7 separate regions of the Homo sapiens genome follow, and regions 2, 3, 4, 5, 6 and 7 are each linked to region 1. Evidence: promoter capture Hi-C in 16 types of primary human blood cells and fetal thymus (Javierre and others, 2016). All regions are on one chromosome and are shown on one strand. Each heading gives the region's core, a stretch centred on a gene start or on the middle of the fragment in contact. The rest is flanking DNA. Distances are from core to core; before and after follow the strand shown. Region 1 holds the start of RALGAPA2 (Ral GTPase activating protein catalytic subunit alpha 2). Region 2 has its middle 9.2 kb from the start of LINC01727. Region 3 has its middle 9.2 kb from the start of BETALINC1. Region 4 has its middle 7.6 kb from the start of NKX2-2. Region 5 has its middle 11 kb from the start of NAA20. Region 6 overlaps LOC105372558 (a long non-coding RNA gene). Region 7 overlaps XRN2 (5'-3' exoribonuclease 2).

Region 1 (3,397 bases), core at 667-3,166:
TACTGTGTGCTAAGAAATAACCTGATCTAGGTTTACTTGATTCTGCCTTTATAAAATGTAGCCAACTTAATCTTGCAGACCTGGACAGAACAAAAATTTAAACGCTAAAGCACAGAAAAAGGCTCAAAGTATCAAACGCTTTAAAACACAGCTCAACTCTCCTTTATCAAAAATGTCCCTGCAGTAGGTGTTAATCAGTCACTACCAGGAACTCCACACAATGCAACCTGTGTATTGTGCAACCTGTGCGTGCATGGTATCTACAGGAAGTAGAAAATTCAGTTTACCAAGAACGCCACACTTCACTCTCCACACTTCACTCTCAAAAGTCTTGAAAACGAATCCCTGTAACAGCAACTAATTTACATTTCATTTCAAACTGAACAAGTCAGTGTAACCTCAAGGTATGTGAGATTGTGAATAACTTCACTTGGCAAAATCAGGTGTGGTTTGGTTTGGCTTGGGTTCTTCTCCCCCTCAGAGGTAGAATATAAATAGAAATAATCAGCAACTTCTGATCTCATGAACAAGATCTTTATTTAAAATCTTCACACGTTAAATCATTTTATGCAATATTCTTTCAAGTGACAGACACATTAGCACTAGGCGATTTTTGTGAATTTTGGGACTAAAAGACACCTGGAAGAAACATAAGGTGTTCTTTCCTTCGCCACCAAATACACAGGTAAGTGTGTCTATAGATAGCAAAGGTGTTTTCATCCCAAAGAAAAGTTAAGACTTAGGATGTAAAAAAATACAGAAAACAAAACATAGCCTAGGCGAACCAGCTACAGATCACATGCAGCAGGTGACAGGAAGCCTTGTGGACACCTCACACCCACAGGGGCGAGCTTCATCACAGGTCAACTCCAAGCCCACCTGAGCTCCTCAGAACCTCCACCTGGCAGGCCATAAACCAGAAGGTGGCAGACAGCATCACTGTCATGCCGGTAATAAAGGAGAAGCAGCCTCCCTGAACCCAAGAAAACCACCCCTCTCTCCAAGCAGGAAGAGAAGGCCCCTTCACACCAAGGACACAAAGAAACTGAAGCAGCCAGACCCAAAATAAAAATTAAATTTAAAAAGCAGCATGGGAAGACAGATGACAAATCTGTGCTGGGATCGCCTGGAATCTCGGTCTATATGGGGGTCTCACACTCAAAAGTAAAAATAAAATTTAAAAGGGGGATGACAGAGATGAGAGCCCAATTAGGTCTGTGCTGGGTTCACTTGGGGTCTCGGTCTACTTAGGGTCTCAGACTCAAAAATAAAATTTTAAAAATGAAAGGGGGAGGTGACAGTTCAATGTGTGCACGTGATGACCACTTGGGATCCAGTTCACTTGCTGGGAGGACAGGGGACAGGTACCTCTGTGCCCGGCCTCCAGGTTCTCCGGGAGCGCAGGCGCCCAGCGAGAATCTGGGCTAAGTTTAACTCGAGGGCGACGGGAGCAGTGCCCGAGGGCCAGGCTGCGGCTTTCTGGAAACAAAGCCCCGGGGGTCCAAGCCCAGATCCAGGGAAGGGGGTCGGACGCCCACCCATCCCCCTCCCCAGCCTCCCAGCCACCGACCCCTGCACAGAGGAGCGCCCTCCCGGCAGGTGCCCCTAACCCGGCGCCCCGACCCCCGCGCCCGGCGCGCGCCTCACCCAGCAGCGCCCGCAGGTGCTTCAGGCGGGTCAGCACGTCCTTCTTCGGGTCCAGCACCTTCTGGGTGGACTTCTTCACATCCCCGTGGCTCCTTCGGGAGAACATCCCGCGGCAGGAAGCCCGGGCCCCGCCGGCGGGGCAGTAGGCGCCTGCGCCACGCGAATCAAAGCATAGGGTCGAGGCCGGCGCGTGTCGCGCGGGCCACTCGCCGCCCCCAGCCCCGCTGCTGCCGCCGCCGCCGCCGCCGCCGCCGCCTCAGCTGTGTCTCCAGGAAGGAGGGGCGGGCCGGTCACGGCGAGGGGCGGGGCAGGAAGGCGGTGTCGACGGGGAACCGAAGGCCCCGCCCCGCGGGAGGTGCCGGCCGGCCCCTTGGGCGCTACGCACGCGCACACAGGCCGAACTCTCCTGGCGGGACACTAGCCCGTCCGCGCCAAAACCTAGCGGGGACGCGCTCAGAGGGCCGAGAAGGCGCCTCGAATCACAAAGGAGCTTCTCTCACGCACACGTTGTACTACAAGTCCCGAGATGCACCGCGAGACAGTCCTCCAATCAGGCTGGCGGTCTTCGGCACGATGGGAGTCAGTGGGCCGGCATTGGGCACGTCGCCCCGCCCTGCCGCGGGCCGCAAGTGCTCCTGGGAAATGAAGTTCTCCAGCAGGCGACGCGCTGCGACCTCTTTTCCAGGGTCGCAGAAGCGCAGGGCGGCCTCTGTCCGTCCCCTGCCCCGGCAGCCTAGATCGCCCGTGGTTTCACTCTCCCTCCTGCGCGCCCACCCCATTTTCCTCTAGTGCAACGTGAACCACACACGCCCAAAAATCTCAGTAAGAAAAGTGTCAAGGCTTTTCAAATGCAAACTATTTTTAGGTTTAGCTTCTGGATTCACACAAGGGAGCGAGTCGAAGCCCCTCTGACCGTGCCGAAATCGCAGCTCTAATTTCACACTAAAATGAGTTGCTTTGGCACTAGGGAAGAGCGTGCCCCGGTGAGGAGTTCAGCCGGCCCCTAGGTTCCTGGAACCCAACCTCACTTGGGGTATGGAGGTCGCTCGCTCAGAGGGCTCCTTGGGATCTTGCCTCTTTGTAGGAAGGGTGCGTTCTCTGTTGTGCAAGCCACATGGCGATCCAGTAGCAGAACCAGAAATAGAACCTGAGGGATCTGACTCAGGCCTGTATACTTTTTAAAGCCAGGCGCTTATTCCCTGGGGCAAGACTTTGAGCTGAAAGATGGTCAGGAGATTTCTTACACTGTAGGATTGTATAGTGGCATCCGAATCCTGCAAGTTTTGACATCCTTTCAGCTTTTTCAGCAAGTACTTAAGGTAGAATCACGTGGTTTCCATCCAAATTGGGACAACACAACTGTCTTTTTCTCCTCTAGCTGAACTGTAACTTGAGGGAAGAGACAAGGATTTACACGCCTTTGTATCCCCATCCCTCAGCACAGTATTTGGCCCATAGGGTCACTCAATAAAAGTTTATTAAATGAAATACAATAAAAAGCTAAAGTAGTCCTACATATTTCAACCAGGCAGGCGAAAAGGAAAAAATAAATAAATAAACTCACAGTTTTAGAGCGTCTCTCTATTTTTAGATTTGTGTAATATTCCTTTGTATAGACACATTCATACAAAGGAATATTACTCAGCAATAAAAAAGAACAGACTACTGATAAACCCAATAACATGGATCACTCTCAGACCCGGAGATGAAAGCCCCATGCTCAAGATGATGGCAGAGCGGCCCTACCAGC
Region 2 (3,397 bases), core at 253-2,752, 850 kb after region 1:
GAGATCGCACCACTGCACTCCAGCCAGGGCGACAGAATAAGACTCTGTCTCAAAAAAAAAAAATTAAAAAAAAAGAAAAATTAAAATGAGAACCAACTTAAGAGATTTAGAGAGAGCAGGTGGCTTCTCCAAGATAATGAAGCATTGGGTTTTCAATCCCAATTCTTCTGAATCTAAACCCAGTGTGCCTGCTGCTACCCCAGGGATGTTCACATAAACAAATCCAGAGCAAAATACTGAGCAGAAAACCCCCACTTGTGGCCACATTCTGTGAGTTCTGCTTTATGGTCATACCGGTATCCCAGAGATGCCTGAATCTGAAACTTGCTCGCTGAGGGGCTGAGACAATTTTACTCTCATTAGGATTTACCCAGTAACGAGTCGGGTAAAGGTCTCACTCAGAAACAGACTAGGGTCAAATTCGTAGAGACAGAAGGTAGAACGGTGGTTGCCAAGGGCTGAGGGAGGGAGAAACGGGGAGTTGTTTCACTCATAGAGTTTCAGTTTTGCAAAATGAAAGGAGTTGTGGAGATGGATGGTGGTGATGACTGCACAACAATGTGTGTTAATGCCCTGGGCTGCATGGTTAAGAATGGTTCAGATGATCACTTTTATGTTATATGTATTTTATCCCAATTTAAAAAAAATAAAAAATAACGACAAAAAGAAATAGACTACAAAGAAACAATGCTGTTTTTCATCATTCTCACACCAATTAATCCCCAGAGCTGTCTTCTGATTAAAGACCACCACTGTGTCTTCATTTCAGGGACAGATGAACCCCATCTTGAGACAGCACCTCTGGATTTTATGCCATCCTCATGAGTGACCAAGGTTTCTTTAGAGCTTTTATGCTCATGAGTTACATTCTGCATTTGGAGTCGAGGGTACACACAGTGCTGCGCTATAAAGACATTAAATGCGAGTCTGCTATCTTTTGAATGTCAGAGAATCCCACATAAACATGGTTAAAGAAATAGACGAACCCTTTAGGAAAGGGGTCTCAACAAAGCACTCTGCTCTCCTATTCAGTGGGGAGGTGGGTCCAACGGTGGCGACAATGATTTTCATGGATGTGGTTCAAGGCTGTTCTGAGCAGATGCGTCAGATTCACGAGGGACTGCAGCCCCTGGTGGGGCTGGGTTCAAGCATTCCGAGGGCCCCGCCTGAAATCCACGCTCTCATTATCAAGGAAACCACGTGCATCCCTGGTCCTTCTTAAGAATCTGCGTTCAAGGTCGTTATGGATGCTCTGTGATTGTGAAGGCTCTTTCAGGCCCACCCTTCCCATGTGACGGGATGGTTTCACTGGGTCTCATGTGCTCAAGGTGAGCTGGGTTTGTATAACCGGCAGTGACTGTTATTCACCGGGAAATGTTCAAAGCCTTAGGGCCAAAACCTGTTTATCTATAACAAAGGGAAAGTCCCCAAGTCATCTGGGTAGATCATCTTAAAAGAGAGGACTCTTCTATTTTATAGTTTTCCAAATAGTGAGGGATAAACGGTCAAACAGGTAAACTCTCTGTCCCTCAGCAAAACAACACACAAACAAGTGATAAAGCCCCCCTTGCCAGCATAGGGGGACTCTTTCAGTGTTTGCGGGTGGGTTTAATCTCCCTGGGCTGTTATAGACCTTCCTTCCATTGCACTCCTAGAGGCTTCAATGTTATAGGATGGCACTTCTTCATATTTAATCACTTCTGTACAGCTTCCTACATTTTTGCTATATTCACAAATCATTTACATTTACTTTGTAATTTTCATTAAATCAATTTTAAACCAATTTAAAAAATTTACTTAGCCGTAGCCAGTGGCTTTCAAAGTTGAACATGTATCAGAATCACCTGGAGGTCTTGTTCAATGACGTATGGCTGGATCTCCCCCTCAGGGTGCAGTAGGTCTGGGGAGGGGCTGAGAATTTGCATTTTATCAATTTTTCAGGTGATTCTGATGTTGCTAATTAGAAGGCTACAGTTCGACAAATACTTTTCTAAGCAATAGCATCCCAGGAATCATGGATTTGATATGGCTTTTTAAAAAGAGGTGTGTTGGCTGGGGGTGGTGGCTCATGTTTGTAATTCCAGCCTTTGGGAGGCCGAGGTAAAAGAATCACCTGAGGTCAGGAGTTCAAGACCAGTCTGGCCAACATGACAAAACCCCGTCTCTACTAAAAATACAAAAATTAGATAGGCATGGTTGTGGGAGCCTGTAATCCCAGCTACTCAGGAGGCTGAGGCAGGAGAATCGCTTGAACCTGGGAGGCGGAGCTTGCAGTGAGCTGAATTGCGCCACTGCACTCCAGCCTGGGAGACAGAGTGAGACCCTGTCTCAAAAAAAAAAAAAAGGGTGTGTTTTTTAGATTGCAATTAGAAACACGGAGACATTGAGAAGTGGGCAATAATAAAGCCACTTTTCATGAAGTAGTGAGATCCCCTCCCTACAGTGGGTGTCCTTGTGAAGGAGACCAGGGTGGCGCTCCCTGCTGGCTCTCACCCGCCCCCTGGCGTGGGTGTGCCTACTGATAGAGCCAAGGGCTGATATCCTATCTGGCTCTGTCGAAGGCACAACTTGGGGCAATTCCTTACCCCTCTTTGTCCCCCAGTCTTCCCATATAAGCAGGGAGGTGATGACACTGACTGACATCTAAGGGTTCTGTTGCTCCATCCTGGGGCCTTTTTGAAGATGGTTGCCTGATGGAGGCAGCCTCCAGAAGAGAGGCTGGAATCCCCCTCTGTGGGGTGGCGGGTGCACTGTGATGTTTCATGTATCAGCACTTTCTGAACTGCACTTGACAAAAACCCACCTCAAACTGGCTTGAGCAAGAAAGGAAACTTATTAGCTCATGCCACTGAAAAATGTATGTCTGGATTCAGGTTTGGCTGGATCCAGGGAATAAAAGGGTGCCATCTACTTCGTCTCACAGTCTCTTTTGCTTTCACCTGCCTGCTCCATCCTCAGGCAGGTTCCTCTCAGGCAAAGGTAAAACAGTCACCAGCAGCTCCAGGCCTATGTCTTGCCAACTTAGCACCTTTTCTCAAGGGTTTCAGCAAAAGTCTCAGCACTGACTCTCACTGGACTATATTATGCACCCATCACTGAACCCATTACTCACTGGAGCAGACACAGATTCTGTGGATTGGCCAGACTTGAGTCTGGTTTCTGCTCCTGAAGTGGTGAGGTATCACCTACACCTAAGAGTTGAGGAGGCATGGCTCTCCAAAGCATGTTGTCAGGAGCTATTACTAGAGAACAAAAGTATGCTGGGAAGGAAAAAACCCACAGTGGTCCTCCCAGATTCATCTGCATCAGTGGTGATCAAAGTGTGTTCCCTGAATCTAAGGGGAAGCATCAACATCACACGGGAGCTTTTAGAAATGCGATTCATGGCTGGGTGTGG
Region 3 (3,397 bases), core at 447-2,946, 830 kb after region 1:
CCCCTCCTCTTTCTCTTTCTTTCTTCTCTTTCTTTCTTTCTCTCTCTCTTTCTTTCTTTCTTTTCTTCCTTTCTCTATCTCTCTTTCTTTTTCTTTTCTCTCTTTCTTTCTTTCTTTCTTTCTTTCTTTCTTTCTCTCTCTCTCTCTCTCTCTCTCTTATTTTGTTTGAGGAAGGGTCTTACTCTGTCACCCAGGCTGGAGTACACTGGTGCAATCATAGCTCACAGCAACCTGGACCTCCTGAGCTTAAGTGACCTCCCACCCCAGCCTCCTGAGTAGCTGGGACCACAGGTACACACCACCATGCCTGGCCAAATTCACTATTTCTAATTCCCTTTTTTAATGGTGGGAAACCTGGCTCTGATTATTTATTCATTTGCTCAATCCCACATAATATAGAAAAAGCTTCAGTGTTGCAAACACATACCGTTGAGATAAACAAACATTCTAATTGAAGTTCAATATCTATTTAGTTCTTTTTGGTTTTAAACTGAGGAGAAATAGAGTACTGCATTCAAAATTACTTGGAATAGGTTTTTTTAATTAATTAAACATTTTTTTCTTTTCTCCAGTATGGATATGTTACTCATCTGAAGTAATATTAGATTCATTTGTTTCTGTTTGGTTTATCCTATTTTAATTTTCTTTTCTTTTTTTTTTGAAACAGAGTCTTGCTCTGTCGCCCAGGCTGGAGTGCAGTGGCGCAATCTCGGCTCACTGCAAGCTCCGCCTCCCAGGTTCACGCCATTCTTCTGCCTCAGCCTCCGGAGTAGCTGGGACTACAGGCACCCGTCACCACGCCCGGCTAATTTTTTGTATTTTTAGTAGAGACGGGGTTTCACCGTGTTAGCCGGGATGGTCTCGATCTCCTGACCTCGTGATCTGCCCGCCTCAGCTTCCCAAAGTGCCGGGATTACAGGCGTGAGCCACCGCGACTGGCTTAATTTTCTTTTTTATCCTTTTTTAATTACCCATTTTATTCTTTTTTTTTTTTCTTAAGAGATGGGGTCTTGCTATGTTGCTCAGGCTGTTCTCAAACTCCTGGCCTCAAGTGATCCTCCCACCTCAACCTCCCAAAGTCTAGAATTACAGGCATGAGCCACGGCACTCAGCCTTTTTTTTTCCTTACTGAGCAGGAAATATCTCAATAAGAGTTTATCTTCAGAAGTCCTTTTTGCCCCAGAAACTGAGTTTTAGATGCAGGGATCCTCTTGATCTTAAATGGCGTCCTCTAGGGAAAATGTGGTGGTTCTCAGCTGCTTCAGCGCAAGCTCTCCAAGCCCGTCTACTCAGCATGAAAATCTAGGAGGGGTGAGCTGAAGAACTGTCCTCATCTCCAGCAAAGTCCTTATAGTGGAAGGACGCATCCTTGAATGGATGACATCTCCTTACCAAACACAGTGCCCCAGTGCATATACATGGATGTAGCATCAAAGTACAGACAGCAAGCAAAAAACACGAAGAGAAATGTGCACAACACAAGTCTGCCAAATCTCTCTCAATCATACAGGTTAAGGGGAACAAAAAAATAAGTATCCTGGATTGGAATATGGATTGAAAAAATATTGCTTTGGAGGAGAATATTGGGAAAACTGGTGAAATGTGAATAAAGATAATATTAAATATATTTGATATTATATAATGGCATTGTATCAGTATTCAATTTCCTGAATTAAATATTTGCTCTTTGGTTTACAGAGATGGTTCTTGTTCTTAGGAGACACATGGTAGAGAATCTGGGGGTGAAGGGTCATTATATCTGCAACTTACTCTCAAATGGTTCACACACACACACAGACATATACACATCCACACACATCTACATATACACATACACACATTCACATACATATATATACACACAATCCACATATCCACACATAGACATCCACACACGTGCACATCCACATACACATATTCACATCCACACACACACACACCTCCACATATACACCTCTACATATACACACATCCACATATACACATATACACATTCACATACATCTACATATATGCATACACACATTCACATACATATACACATACGTGCACACAGCACATATCCACATCCACACGTGTACACATCCACATATTCACATACATACATACACACATCCATCCACACACATCCACATACATGCATTCACATACATATATGTATGCAGGCATCCACATGTGTACATATACACACCCATACATTCACATCCATATACATCCACATATACTCATCTGCATATACACATGTACACAATACACATATCCATACATACACATTCACATACATACATGCGCACATACATGTATACACATACACACCTGTACACACATACAAATGGCAAAGTGTGAGTAGCTGGTGAAGCATATATGGCGGTTCATTGACATTATTCTTATAATTTTCCTGTAGTTTTGAATTTCTTCAAAATAAAAAGTAAAAATATTGATAAGTAATAAGACAGATCAATTTTACATATGACAGACCAGCCACATCATGCATCTATGTTGAAATCTCTACACTTTTATTCAGACACCCATGTCAGAGTCACAAAAAAGGGACCACATTTTAAGCTACAACAAAACTTCCATAAATTTCAGAAAGAAAGTAAACAGTTTCATTATTAAACAAGAAATAATGAAAATAAAGGGTATTCTATTCAAGAAGTTAAGAAAACGATCAACAAAACATCTAAATAAAGCAGAAGGGTGGGATTAAAGTAGATAAAAAATCAGAAATAAGTGTATTTGTAAACAGAAAAACAATCATGCTAAAGAAAAAACCCAAGCACTGGTTCTTTGAAATAATCAGTGATGTAGATAAACTATCAGTGGTTTAATTTAAAAACACATTGTTATGGAGAGTTGTGCAAAACCCACTCATGTAGTTCAATCTATTAATAAAGCAATGAAGAAAAATTATACTGGAATCTCAAGAGTTGCTCAAAGTCACTTAATAAATTGTAATGCTCGATATGCGGGGGGCCCTTCAGGCCTAAGCTTCATTAGCTGTATGCAAAATCCACCGAACTTTGCCTCTGGATCCCAGGGTCCTGCGGGGACAATTCAAGTGTCTGCCTAGCATAGAGTTATGCTTGCCTTAGCCGAGGGATGTGCAGGAGAGAGTGGCTGCGGGAATCTCCACAGGACTCAAGGCAGTGTCCAAGAGAAAATGTCCAGTGCATACCTGCCAGACAGAGGGGAGCAACTCCTAGCTGAGTAAGGATTGCTGAGTGCCTGGCCTCTTCCCCACATGCCAGTCATATTCACCCAGGTGGGTTCTGGGGAGGAAGCTTGGCCCAAAACAATGACCAGGAAATGGAGGAGGAGGTGGGCATAGACAGGTGGAGAGCAGAGGCTACCCACACTTGTGCCTGAAGGGGATATGAAGACGAATATGAGAAAG
Region 4 (3,397 bases), core at 492-2,991, 810 kb after region 1:
TTTTTTTTTCCTTTGGTCCATATTATATTAACTCTTTAAATTGCCCCAGGAAGGGAAGAATGAGTGGATGCCTCCCAGATGGACAATCCTCCCAAGTCAACTAAGAAGGAGTTGGGTAGATAAGTTCTCCAGGCCCAGAGACTTTCAGATTCTGTGTCTGGGGGAAAATCCCCACCCCGTTCCTACAGAGTGGCGGGAACCCCATTGATGCCACGGAGAGAACTGATCCTGGGACCTAGAGCCTGGAGTCCCCCTGCGATTAACTGTGGATGCAGGAGGAAGGCATCTAGGTGAGCTCCCTTCTCCCTATTCTTTTTCAAGGCAAAATATACAACACTTTCCCAATTATCTGCCTCCCTCCCACCACAAAAGGGGCACATATCTCCCAAGGATGTAAATAGTAATAGAAATTAGTATTTGTCTTTCTATTAATCAGCTTCATTGTGTGGGCATAAGACCCTGCGGGCATATGTTAGGACTTTGATAAATGCACTTTAATGAGATCTTTAAAAATGCATCCAATAAAATAAAAGGCGAGGAAAGCCGTTTAACTTTCATGGATGTTAAATTGAACACGAACTGTGGCTCCGGGCACGCTACAAAATGGAACCGGCCTCTCTCCAATATTTTCTTTAAAAACCTAGCTTTAAGCCCCCCTCGGGCCAAACGAGCCTGTCCCAGCCAATCCATTATCACCGGTTTATTGGGGAACCAAACGCCACGTCCCCCTGGGCGAACTCCTTGGCTTTATTCGTTCGCGCTGCTCTAATGACTAAATATGTTACAATGAGATTACGCATCGTCAGTGTTGCCTTCAGGAACGTTCTTTCAGCCAAGCCCGACCTTCCCCGGATGAGGGCGATTTCAATACGGGAGATCTGGGTTTCTCCAGGAAACACGCGCTGAAAGCACTCTCTTATCTGAATTTACTTCTTAACACGTGACAAAATCATTACCACAAGACTTTGGAAAACAAGCGGCTCTCCTAACGGGTTGCATTCAGCACTTAAAGCTGGGTCGGGCAGGCTGATGTGAAAAGTAGTTGTCGGTGGCGCGGAGAAGGCACGCTCTTAGCTGGAGCTAAGGGCTGGTTCCGGGAAGGACAGGGAATGCACCCTTGGGCCCTCGGGCACAGAGAGGGGGTTCCTAGGGCTCTGTCTCTCTCTCTCCAATGTGAGCCCCAGAGGTTCACAACCTTCCCCTAGACGCAACGTCCCCTTTCCACCCCCAAGAGCCACTAAAGTCGAGAAGGCGCCAGAGGAGCTCCAAAGGGCCTCCTGGTAGTGTGTGCGTGTGTGTTGTGGGAGGAGGTTGGGGCGGAGGGGGCGCCCCTCGGAGACAAGGACCCCACCGAGGTTCATTTCTGATCCTCTGGCGATCTCTACTGACACAAACGAGAACTGTCCGGCGCCGGGCGCGGCCCAGGCGACACTCGCCTCCCAAACTCCAGTCTTCAGTCGCCTCTCCAGAGACCTCAGTCCACTGCGCGGGCCCTCAGCCCCGGCTCCTCCTGTCTGCGACTCCCACCACTTGCCCTCGTGCTCATCACCACCGTCCCCTCACGTCCCAGTTCCGTCTGAGGAGAAGCCCCTGTCTCCACTGGGCGCCATCTCCAAATTACCTTCGGGACTTCTGCCTCTGTTTCAATCCCCGATCCCGAGCTCCCTGCGACGCACAGGGGGCGACTTACCCGGTGGAGGTGGGTGCAGCGGCCGCCCCTTCCTCACCGCGGCCCCGCCAGCCGAGGCGCAACCGGCCCCGGGCAATCGGGAGGGAGCTAGCCAGGCGCTCCGCGCGCCCGCTCCGCCTTCTACTCCCGGAGCTGCGGCGACAGCCCCGCCGCATTTCAAGGCGCGTCTTTATCTAGTACTCCACCTACCCGGACCCCCCTCGCTCTGCGCCCTTCCCCCACCGCGCGCCCTACCAGGCGGGGCTCAGGGGACCGCAGGCGGGGACCGCCGCGGGTGCCGCGCCCCTCCCTCCTCCTCCGCCTCCCAGCCCCGCACCTTCCCAGCCCCTGGGACAGTCCCGCTTTCCCTGACCGCACCGGAAAGTGCGCAGCGGCGGGATCACCTGGCCTCGGCGGCTGGTAAAACTTTTCCTGACTGCAGGCGCGACAGAGGGGCCCTGCCCGTCCTCGAGTGCTCGCCACTCCTGCCGTGATCCGCAAAGTCGGGGAGAACTTCGGAGGCCCGCACTTGCCCACCTGCTGCGTCCGGACTACGCGGCTTGGGGATCGAGCCGAGTCAGGACCCGGGAGAGCGAGGGGCTCATAACCGGGGTCCGCCGTGAACCCGAGCTCCGGCGCCGCTCGGCGGCGACGACGGTGCCCCGAGACCCCTCTCTGCTGGCAGGCCGCGGTGACCGTGCCCGGAGCGCGTTCCCGCGCCGGGCGGCTGTGGCAGGAGGACCAGACAGTCAGCGCCTGGCAGCGAGGGCGACGCCGGGCTTCCTCCATCGCCACCGCCGGGCTCCGCTGCGGCTCCCGGGCTCCGCCGGGTGCCCCGCGCCATCCCCATCCCGCGTTCACCGGAAACGCGTGCGAGCTGGAGGCTCACCTGGAGCGCGACTGCGCCGCTGGAGCCTCGGCTGGGCGAGCGCGCAGGTCCCGGCCGCTCTTTATCCCGAGTCGCGGGCGGCTGCGGAGTCGCGGGCGGTCGGGCGGCGGCTCGACGCGGCCGGCGAGCGCTCCCCCTCCCGGCTCCGGGCTCCTGGCTCCAGGCTCCCGGCCCAGCGGCCCCACCCTCCTAGCTCCGGCCCCGCGGCCACCGCGCAGCCCCAGCGGAGGGGGCAGCTCCCCCGCGCCGCGCGCGCTCTGTTTGTTTTCCTTGCCGGACTGACGTGAGTCAAAATATTGGCCATATGTTCAGCGGTAATAAATTGGGTATGAGCGCAAACACACTTGGGCTTCGATGGCTCTTTCAGCTGCCACATGGTAGGCTTTGCGGGGAGGGGGCTTCCACCCCGCCTCGGCCCCCTGCCCCCAAACGCGCGGGTAGATTCCCTCCCTCCTGCGCCCCTCTGAGCAGGAGATCTGGGACCCCAGGTTTCTCCTGACCCTCGCCCCTCCTCCGTCCCCAGCAGTGCCTTGGACTCCGCAGCTCCTGGCGAGCCCGGACTGCTGGTTAACAAGGTCGCCATCTATAAATTGCTCGGTCGCTAAGACGCCATAAAACCAAAGGGCCAGATGTGGCACGTTATTTATGTGTGAAACCGCGTTTACACTAGATACGCGGATCCAAGGCCGATAGCACGACTTCGCGGGAGGTCACAGACCTCTCGCCCCGGCTCCAGGCTCCTCCCCCAGCACGATCTCCTCTCCAGGTTGAGGGGTGTCGGTCTTGCCGGGAAAGGGATTCACCCCTGCAGCCCAGGAGGAAAGTGATTTCAGTGCGCT
Region 5 (3,397 bases), core at 458-2,957, 710 kb before region 1:
AGGTCTGGGCATGTAACCTTTTTTTTTTTTTTTTTTTTTTTGAGACAAGGTGTGACTGTCACTCAGGCTGAAATGAAATGCAGTGGTGCTATCTCGGCTCACTGCAGCCTCAACCTCCTGGGCTCAAGCACAATCCTCCTACCTCGGCCTCCTGACTAGCTAGGACTACAGGTGTGCACCACCATGCCCAGCTAATTTGTGTTTATTTTTTGTAGAGGTGAGGTCTCACTATGTTGCCCAGGCTAGTCTCAAACTCCTGAACTCAAGGGATCTACCCCCCTCAGCTTCCCAAATTTCTGAGAAAGTGTAACCAAGGCCTCCCCTCAGAAGTCTCCCTGGAGAAGCTTCAGTTGGAGTGAGGTGGTTGGGGGTGGAGATGGGGGCAGAGTTTCTTATCTCGAGTCTGCTATAAATTCTCCCATTTAAAAGTAAAATTTGCCTGAACTCTGAGGCTGCATGTAAGACACTTAGACTATCATTACATTAATGAATCTGAGTATTTCCTTTGAGTGCACACATTAGAACTACTACAGCCAGCCCTCATTTCTCACTGCTGGGGAACGGGGGTGGTCAGATCCTGCCACCTGTGGAGAGGGGCTCAGAACCTGAGGACCACGGGTGGCCAGGGAGGAGCTCCTAGACGGCCTTCACCTCTGTAACCAGCCTTCGGTTTCCTGGGGGAAATATCACTACACATAATTAGCTCCATTGCTTCCCTTTCTTCCCATTTCCCCACCATGATTCTGTGGGCTGGGTTTTCCCTCACGTAGTAGGTTTGAGGGTGCTCTTAACTCTATTCCAAGCCTCCTTGCCAAAAAGCAGGCTCTGATCCTTTTCACAGTTTGTTTCTTCAGTTCCAACCAGAGACTCAAAAAGTGTGAACCCGGCCCCACTGCAAACATTACCCGCCCACACTATCTGTCACCAAGACCCAGTGTCCGTTGTTCCATTTGAATAGGTGGCTCTCAGCTTTGGCTGTCAGCTTGAAGTCACCCGGAGCCTTTTAAAACTCCCAATGCCCCAGCTGCCCAGACCATCAGAATCTCTGCAGAGGCGACCCAGCCAGCCATATTTATTTTAAACTTCCAAGGTGCTTCTGCTGTGAAAACTACTAGTTTAGATCAAAATCTGGATTTTAATATAAAAACACACCTGCGAGAAGTAACACCTTTGCCTAACCAAGACCACTGACACCTAACCAAGCATGCATTCTCAACCTGATTTGGCTGGCAGAGGACCATGGAACATGTACTTCTAGCCTGGTGCTATCCCGTAGAAATACGAAGCAAGCCACATAATAGGTAATTTTACATTTACTAGTGGCCACATTTTTAAAAATCAAGAAGAAATATGTAGAATCAATTTTAGTAATTTTATTTAGCTCATGATATCTCAAATATATTTCAACAACCAATCAATTAAAAATATTAAAGAGGCATTTTACATTTTTTTATTTTTTATATTGTCTTCAAAGTCTTGTGTGCATTTTGCACCTACAGCACATCTCATTTCACACTGGCCATGTCTTAAATAACCAATAGCCACATGTGGCTGGTGGCTACCATATTGGAGAGTGCAGTTCTAGCATATCAACTAGGGATGATCTTAAAAGTTAAAAAAAAAAAAACGGTATGTGTATATAAAATAAAACACATTCACAGGTTACATCTACAAAGGAACAGACACATGCATCCTGTCAAACGTATGTACCTATTACTAGCCAAGGATGAAAATAGCATCTTGCCTCTTCAGGCACTGCTGTAAGGCAAACATAAATTGATCCATGCAAAGTGCTTAGAACATCCAGGCACCACACCACAAGCACTGTTAAATGTTACTTATTATGATTATTAGATAATCGACTGCTTTGGCATTTCACCCCTACTGCTTATTTCTGCTTACCCATTCATGCTATTATCTGCTGGCAAGTTTCTTGTGAAACAGAAGAAAGGCAGTAATGGGTATCAAAGGTTTAAGAAAAATGTACTGGGGCGGGTTGCTCAATGTAGGAAGATCAAACATAAAGTGAATACTAGTCATTAATTTTATTTTATTTATTTATTTATTTTTGAGACGGAGTCTCACTCTGTCGCCCAGGCTGGAGTGCAGTGGCACGATCTCGGCTCACTGCAAGCTCCGCCTCCCAGGTTCATGCCATTCTCCTGCCTCAGCCTCCTGAGTAGCTGGGACTGCAGGTGCCCGCCACCATGCCCGGCTAATTTTTTATATTTTTAGTAGAGATGGTGTTTCACCGTGTTAGCCAGGATGGTCTCGATCTCCTGACCTCGTGATCCACCCGCCTTGGCCTCCCAAAGTGCTGGGATTACAGGCGTGAGCCACCGCACCTGGCCTAACTTTATTGTTGTTACTGCTGACGGTGGTGATGGCGGTGATGGTGGTGTGTGCGTGTGAGTTGGGAGTAGCTCATTTTCCCCAGTATTCAATGCTGGTCAAGAGCATCATCAGGGCCCATAGCCAGGGGTGACTTTCGCCAAGAAGGGAGAAGGGAGCAAGGGAGGTTGCAAAGACGTCTTGCTAGCTTCCCAGTCACGGGCAGATCGAAATCCTAAGAGGAACCATCTCTGCCTGCACAAGAGTCTAAAATAGTATTTCCCAAAAAGGAATTATTATTTAAGTAAAAGCATAATTATAGTCAGTGATTATTTTAACCACTTTCCTCCACCTTTTTCCCCTTTTACTTTATTATATTCACGAATTTATATGTCCATTTATATCATTTAACAGGACTATTGTTTAAAACTTGGTGCTTTACCAAGAAGAATACAGAGGTTGACGTGATTAATTCTTTTTATTTCTGATGTGCGTGCTTCCGATTTCTCACCACTTCTACAAATTATGAGAGAATGCATTTATTTACCAGATTGCAGTTTCCGTCCATTTTATCTTTCTCACTCCCATTTTTCTCTGCAGCCTATTGATGTACGATCATATGCAGAAAAGACTTATGCATCTATTATCTACTGAAAGAAAAACTACAGAAAACAATAAAATGCTAGAGACTCTTTAACCAATCAGAAAAAAATACGTAAGTGAAGCAGCTACGACATCACAAAGCTTCTATTTTTCGCTAGCACATGAAAATATGAGACCTGACAAATTGCAAACTCTCATTGAACAGATAGTTTAGGGTTTTGCCTTGAAAACCATAGTCCACGGATCAAGCATCACATCTTTTGGGAGTTTGTGAGAATCTCAGACCCCTGGCAGACCTGCTGGATCAGAATCTGCATTTTAACAAGATTCACGAGCACATTAGAGTTGGCTTGAGAAGCATTAGTTCAAGGTATATTTGGGGCCTTGGCATTTGTGCAGCTGATACAAATACACAAATGTAGGAGGTGTGCTGCTCTTAGAACCCTGCAGGAAAGGAGAAGAA
Region 6 (3,397 bases), core at 563-3,062, 690 kb after region 1:
AACACATTTCACGCCCAAGAAAGTCTAATCACGAATTGTCCTTAGCTTCCTGTATATGGATTGTCCCGTTTCCATATGTTCAAGCAAGATGTATCTCTCTCACATAGATATTTTTACTTAGAGACTCAAGAGGACATATGTAAGGCAAAAAAAAAACATAAACATTTATTCTTCCTCTGCCTTGATATATAAAAAATCTGAGGCAGTTTATAAATAAATATATTTGTGCGCTTTAAACATTTAGTAAGACTCAAGACCTCATAAATAAGGATCTTATAAAAGAGTAGGAAATTAAGATATAAGTTGAAAAAACATCAACTAAACAGGCTATAAAGCCTACTGAATTCCTATAGTTGAGCCTCACATTTGGCTCTAAGCTTCCTCGTGGTCAATTGAAAAAGTCAGTTATATTTTCCTTGCATTTAGGAAGAACACCCTCCCAATACACACAGACATACACACAACATTTCTCAAGGAAAGAGGCATTTCCTAATACTCAGCTCTAAAAAAAAATTTGTCATGGGGCTTCATGGAGGGAGCACTGAACATAAACATCTTAATAGTTCTATAGCAGATGGAATTATTTTTAAATATTGGCTTGTTGTAGTGGCCATTCCTAAAAAGTCTGAGACCTCAACATCGAATCATCTCAATTAAGGACTCTAAGGTTTAGGAACAAAATATGGTTCAGGTTTGTAGCCTTCTGATTCAGGAATGCTTCATACTTTAAAAAAATGACTTCATAGATCATGCCTATAATCCCAGCACTTTGGGAGGCCGAGGCGGGTGGATCACGAGGTCAGGAGATGGAGACCATCCTGGCTAACACGGTGAAATCCCGTCTCTACTAAAAATACAAAAAATTAGCCAGGTGTGGTGGCGGGCGCCTGTAGTCCCAGCTACTTGGGAGGCTGAGGCAGGAGAATGGCGTGAACCCAGGAGGCGGAACTTGCAGTGAGCCGAGATCGCGCCACTGCACTCCAGCCTGGGCAACTGAGTGAGACTCCGTTTCAAAAACAAAAACAAAAACAAAAAACAAAAAAAAAACTTCATAGAAACTACAACATCGTTTGATATCCTAGTTATTAGAAAGTTCTGATACTGAGGCTAAATAGGTCACCATAATTTGCAGGTAACAGTCCTAGATCAGTTCTTTGATGCCAAACTAACTCTAGTTCTTTCCCACAAAGCACTCTAAATATAAGAGAATATTATATTCTACCTATGTTTTCTCCTTTTCATACTAAAAAAATCCTCCAGAGCAAAAAGATCTAGAATGAACACATACAATTATATTAACTAAGAATTTATTTAGTGATTACTATATGCTTAAGATTGTCTTAGTGCTTTAGAAAACTGGGGAAGGAGCCCCTCTGATATTAGAATAAACTTATCCCTGGCATTCATATCCTGACGTTGAGCAGTATTTTAAAATTATATATTGATGTAGTTTGGATGCTTGACCCCTCCAAATCTCATGCAGAGATTTGATCCCCAGTGTTGGAGTGGGGCCTGGTGGGAGATATTTGGATCACGGGGAGGCATCCCTCATGAAGGGCGTGGTGCCTTCCTTCTGGTAGTGAGTGACTGCTTCCTTTAGTTCTTGCAAGATCTGATTGTTTAAAAGAATCTGGCACCACCCTCCTCTCTCTCTCGCTTCCTCTTGCCATGTGATGCCTGCCCTCCTTCACCTTCCGTCGTAAATTGAGGCACTCTGAAGCCCTCACCAGAAGCAGATGCTTCTGGTACAGTCTACAGAACTGTGAGCTAAATAAACCTCTTTTCTTTATAAGTTGCCCTGCCTCAGGTATTCCTTTATAGCAACAGACTAAGGTATTCCTATATAGCAAATGGACTAAGACATGTATACATAATATGTATTACTTTATGTACTTTTATGTACTATTTGAAATTATATGTTTATATCCATGTGAATATATCCTGTATATATATGTGTATATATATGTGTGTGTGTGTATATATATATATATATATATATGTATATGTCTAAAAGAAAATGCATGTCAAATTCTAAATAGCTGACTTACTAATGAACTTTTCAGAACACATCCCATTTGTAAGGTGGGGATAAGGCAAAAATTGTAAACATTACTAATATTTATTTGTCTTACTAACATACTAGTTACTTTCATGAGCTTTATGTGTTTATCTCATTTAATAGGTACAATAGAAGAGAAGTGTCATCAACATTGACAGTTCAAACGTAAAGATCTTCTAAATAGGGGTGAAAAAGAAATCTTAAAGTTATTTATGGCTGCTCTCCTGCATCTCTACAAGGTTAATAGATGATGATTTATGCAATTTTTTTTTAGACGGAGTCTTGCTGTGTTGTCCAGGCTGGAGTGCAGTGGTGTGATCTTGGCTCACTTGCAACCCTCACCTCCTGGGTTTAAACGATTCTCCTGCCTCAGCCTCCCAGGTAGCTGGGATTACAGGGACCCGCCAGCACATCCTGCTAATCTTTTTATTTTTAATAGAGATGGGGTTTCACCATGTTGGCCAGACCAGTCTAAACTCCTGACCGCAAGTGATCCGCCCACCTCAGCCTCCCAGAGTGCTGGGATTACAGGCATGAGCCACAGTGCCTGGCCTGATTTGTGGTATTTTTGAGTAGCCGTTGTTAATGAGACTATTCTTACATTGCCAGATGATTTTGATGACTATTTTAATTGGATATTTGTTTTGTATACATTTTCTTTATAAGGGCAGCAGAAGGTTTGGAAGTTTCAAGTGGTTAGAGTAGAGTTAATGGAGCAGTAATAGAAGGTGTTTCTTTCCTCTAGGTACTACAGTAATGAAGTAATTTTCATTTTTGCTTTTTTCTTTTCTTTGAGACAAGGTCTCGCTGTGTTGTCCAGGCTGGAATGCAGCGGCATGATCATGGCTTTCTGCAACCTGTGCCTCCCAGGCTCAAGCAATCCTCCCACCTCAGCTTCTGAGTATCTGAGACTACAGGCAGGCACCACCACGCCCTGCTAATTTTTGTATATTTCGTAGAGACGGAGTTTTGCCATGTTGCCCAGGCTGGTCATACTCCTGAGCTCAAGCAGTTCATCACCTTGGCCTCCCAAAGTGTTGGGATTATAGGCATAAGCCACCATGACTGGCTTGAAATAATTTTCTTAGATAATTGAATAATATAGTTTCTCAGGTATAGTGACAAATATTTGTAGAACACTGGCATTGATCATTATTAACTCAATATTATTAAAATTACTGAGGTGATAAAAGCTTTTTGTAAAACAAATCAAATAATGTGTGGAAGTATATGGAGCAATGCTATCCAGTAGAAATACAATGTGAGCCACAAGTATAGTTTAAAATTTTCTGGTAGCTATGTTACACATAATGAAGAGAAATAGGTGGTATTAAATAG
Region 7 (3,397 bases), core at 644-3,143, 680 kb after region 1:
TAAATTGCTTACCTGGTGTTGCCTCCAGGCCTTTTGCAGTGCTTCACATATTAATTAGTAAGACCTCTCTTCTCACAGCTAAGGAACATATTTTGTATGTTTTTTGATGTATTCTTACAAGTATCTCCACCTTACAAGAAGATAATCACCTTAATTGCAAATAATTTCTTCTGAGATTTTGTTACAGTTTATTTGAATCAGTTTATCGAATTTTGCTTTGAATTCTTTCAGCCCAGGACCTCTAAAAATCGTGTCAGTGAACTAAGGCTCTTTATGTTACTATGGTTAGATGGCACTAGGCCGTTTCAGTGATGAGCATTTTTGAAGTGAGGACTATTTGTAACTGGAAGAAACCTTGGAGAATGTGTAGTCTAGTCACCTCATTTTCCAAGTCAGGAACTGAAACCCTGAAAACCCCACACGGTTCAGCAGGAGAACTGGTAGCTGGCTGCCTAGACTGCTGACCCCAGTTCATCCATTTTCCTCTCTCCTTTGGAGATCTTCCTTTTAAAGGAACTCTGTGCTGTTACAGGAGGTAAAATTCTTATTTACTTAGAAGATATAAACCAATTGGTAAATTTATTATTCTTTTAGGACTTTTTGAAAATAACATTTCTTCTTTCTCAGTCCCTTTGCCAGGGAGATACTTTTTATTAAATCACAATTGTTGAAGCACTATTAAATTGCAGAAGTTTGTTGTTAAAAACATAGAATCATTACTTCATTGTATTTTTAGTAAAGTTTTATATGACCAAACAAGGCCTTAGCCTGCATTCTGGCCTTGAGTCTGCACATGTTCATGTTTAAAGTACTGAAGTGCTCTCTGGGTGGCAAAATGAGGTGGGAGGGGGTTCCATTTCAAAACCCTAGAGGCCTAGGAAAGGACTTATAATGAAGAGGTGTCAGGTTTATCTTTTGTTATACAGAAATGTTATTTGCAAACATACTAGGATATGTTATAAAGGTCACGGCTAATGGATTGTGTAATAACCTTAATATGTCATTTAAAGCCCTACTATTTGTTGCTAAATAAAAAATCCCTAAAATCAATTGCTCATTTGGCCTTAACTGACTTAGCAAGCTCTTGCCTTGGTTAAAGCAAAGTTACTTTCCTTGTGTAATAAGTCTAAATTGATGTGGGTATCTTACCACAAAGTGACTTGAATTACTACTGCTAGGACAGTGAGAAAATTGAGAACCACTGTCTGTACATGTTGTTTACACAGAACACTTTAGTTATTTGTGTGCATTTGTGATTGTTAAGGTTTTTTGTTTTATTTTTCAGTAATAGCATTTGTGCTAGCCTCCAACTTTGCAACAAGTCTGTATTAAAGCTCTGGATCAAAGCACCTTTTATGGGGCCTTTCCATGTGCTGTACCTTTAACACATACTCAGTTTCCTTATGATGTGTTTTTCCATAGAGGTTTAAAGTTAACTGACTTGCAGGAGTATCGGTCCAGAAAATAAACTCTTTCTTTTGTTTATTTTCAGGGATATCCCAGAGAAGGAAGGAAATACCCTTTGCCACCACCCTCAGGAAGATACAATTGGAATTAAGCTTTTGTAAAGCTTTCCCAAATCCTTTCATCATTCTACAGTTTTATGCTATTTGTGGAAAGATTTCTTTCTCAAGTAGTAGTTTTTAATAAAACTACAGTACTTTGTGTATTTCTTTTAACTGTGTATATTTCTACTGATCTGATCTCACTGTTTATGTTGCTTTCCAAAGATGTATGTTGCATAATACAGTGGATCTGAATTTATTATTGCTTATAAAACACATTTGATGGAATAGGAGTACTGGTTTTTCATAATGGTTAAAAATGAAACCAGCTGTGGATTTCAAAACACAGTGTATTCTAGATCATCTAAGATCCATGCTGATTTTTATTGCACAAGAATTAGGTTTGAACTCGAGCTGGAACCTCAGCAAACTAGAGTATATATTGTTCAGTATTTCTTTGGAAACATTTCATTAATGTACTTGTCTTACAGAAATTTCTGAACTTTAGTAAAAAAAAATAAAGTTAAACTTTTAAAACTCTGTTTTGTGTTGTTATTTTGCAGTATTTCAACTTTGAAAATCTTGACCAAGCGTGGTTTTTTAAAATTAACTTTTGCAGAAAACTATTTCTGTAATCAGATGTCCAAACCAAAGGACAAAGAAGTCAATGAAGAAGTAGATTTTAAAAGATAGGGTCAGCAAGACATAACAAAAGCTTTAACTTTGTTGTATTATGTCAGTGACTGATCTGGCTAACTCAGAAATCTTTGTGAGATAAATTACATTTTTACAAATTTAATGTAGACTTCTCCAGTTTTAAGGACTTGTTTTAAATCTTCAAGTTGACAATTTTAATTAATGGCCAAATAGTCTATGCTCCTTAGCATATTTTTGTATGTCATTAGATTGCAATTTGTACTCATGTTTTTCCTTGCTACTAAGTACACTATAAATTGCTTAAATGTGTGTTTGGAGTTCACATACAGCACTTACATATGCATTTTCATTTGATTGCCAAAACATATTTAGACACACATACAGAGACTATTGCTTTGTTTCAGTTTTTCCCTCCTAGCCCAAGATTGTGAGGTAAAGCTTCTCTTTGACCTCCTGACTTAGGATATTTTTGCTTTAATATTCAACTGAAGCACGCTTGTTAAACTTAGTCTGTGGGAAAAAAAAAAATCTCACCTCAACCTTGAATAGGAAGGTATTTTGTAGCTATTGAGTTCATTGCTAATGATGGGTGACCAGAGCAGGATCCTTTATTGTTGAGACAAAGAGTCTCTCCATCAGGAATTACCAACCCAACCCTTACATAATTGCCTTCGCTCAACATTCAAGTGATAATGCCTTCTATTAAATTTCTCTGTAAGTTTATCTCCCAAATATTAAAAATGTAGACAGCCATCTCAGTAAAGCATTGCATATTCTAAAGGAGCTTATAAATGTTTTACTGTTTATAGTTCATAGTCAAAACCCACAATTCCACTCTTTATATTCTCAGACCTTTAGTTTTGGCTTAGTTTTAAGCTGGCCTGAGACTGACTCAGTTTTTGACTGAATGTTTAAAGCACTGTTTGGAAGACATCTGAGCAAAAGGCCTGATGGAGAAACTGATGACGGCAGATTTCCTCTGCAGAACTGGCAGGTGTTCCCTCGCTGAGCCGGCTTCAGGCCCTGCTCCGTGACCTCACCCTTGCTTCTTCCTCTCCATCCTTAGTCTTCATCTCTTTCCAACTTGGTTCCGCGTTTGAATCTTCCAGGAAAATGCCCTGCCCATTTCAATCAGCAAAATGCTTTTCAGAGCTTTAATGTTTAAAGCTGTAAATATCTCCTCCAAATTCTGATGTAAAAATAAATTCGTTGGGCCAATTTTAAGTAGTTACTTG

What was found. The method cuts DNA at HindIII sites, captures the fragments that hold promoters and counts their contacts. A CHiCAGO score of 5 or more calls a contact.
Region 2: a contact is called between a fragment that was not itself captured here and the fragment with the promoter of RALGAPA2 in region 1, in 1 of 17 cell types (non-activated CD4 T cells). The highest score is 5.0, in non-activated CD4 T cells.
Region 3: a fragment that was not itself captured here is called in contact with the fragment with the promoter of RALGAPA2 in region 1 in 2 of 17 cell types (activated CD4 T cells and total CD4 T cells); the score reaches 6.2 in activated CD4 T cells.
Region 4: a fragment that was not itself captured here is called in contact with the fragment with the promoter of RALGAPA2 in region 1 in 1 of 17 cell types (activated CD4 T cells); the score reaches 6.4 in activated CD4 T cells.
Region 5: a fragment that was not itself captured here is called in contact with the fragment with the promoter of RALGAPA2 in region 1 in 3 of 17 cell types (activated CD4 T cells, naive CD4 T cells and total CD8 T cells); the score reaches 6.1 in activated CD4 T cells.
Region 6: a fragment that was not itself captured here is called in contact with the fragment with the promoter of RALGAPA2 in region 1 in 2 of 17 cell types (naive CD8 T cells and activated CD4 T cells); the score reaches 6.3 in naive CD8 T cells.
Region 7: a fragment that was not itself captured here is called in contact with the fragment with the promoter of RALGAPA2 in region 1 in 2 of 17 cell types (naive CD8 T cells and naive CD4 T cells); the score reaches 5.7 in naive CD8 T cells.

The regions. Positions count from the first base shown.
Region 1 is chr20:20,710,728-20,714,124 of GRCh38, forward strand. RALGAPA2 (Ral GTPase activating protein catalytic subunit alpha 2) reads right to left here and starts at 1,917. Exons shown (of 40, transcript NM_020343.4): 1 at 1,648-1,917. The coding sequence starts at 1,753. RefSeq lists a silencer at 1,808-2,067 and enhancers at 2,059-2,353, 2,178-2,377. The HindIII fragment of the contact is 11,955 bases long and covers 1-3,397 here.
Region 2 is chr20:21,559,123-21,562,519 of GRCh38, forward strand. No RefSeq gene overlaps it. Among named protein-coding and RNA genes, the nearest start is that of LINC01727, 9.2 kb to the right of the region's middle. The HindIII fragment of the contact is 7,332 bases long and covers 1-3,397 here.
Region 3 is chr20:21,537,607-21,541,003 of GRCh38, forward strand. No RefSeq gene overlaps it. Among named protein-coding and RNA genes, the nearest start is that of BETALINC1, 9.2 kb to the left of the region's middle. The HindIII fragment of the contact is 2,586 bases long and covers 404-2,989 here.
Region 4 is chr20:21,520,007-21,523,403 of GRCh38, forward strand. It overlaps a transcript of NKX2-2 not described here. Among named protein-coding and RNA genes, the nearest start is that of NKX2-2, 7.6 kb to the left of the region's middle. RefSeq lists an enhancer at 883-1,697. The HindIII fragment of the contact is 5,340 bases long and covers 1-3,397 here.
Region 5 is chr20:20,004,684-20,008,080 of GRCh38, forward strand. No RefSeq gene overlaps it. Among named protein-coding and RNA genes, the nearest start is that of NAA20, 11 kb to the right of the region's middle. The HindIII fragment of the contact is 2,731 bases long and covers 343-3,073 here.
Region 6 is chr20:21,404,173-21,407,569 of GRCh38, forward strand. All of the region lies in intron 2 of LOC105372558 (a long non-coding RNA gene), which reads left to right. Among named protein-coding and RNA genes, the nearest start is that of NKX2-4, 8.3 kb to the left of the region's middle. The HindIII fragment of the contact is 2,875 bases long and covers 376-3,250 here.
Region 7 is chr20:21,387,781-21,391,177 of GRCh38, forward strand. It overlaps XRN2 (5'-3' exoribonuclease 2), which reads left to right. Exons shown (of 30, transcript NM_012255.5): 30 at 1,493-2,045. The coding sequence ends at 1,558. Among named protein-coding and RNA genes, the nearest start is that of NKX2-4, 8.0 kb to the right of the region's middle. The HindIII fragment of the contact is 650 bases long and covers 1,569-2,218 here.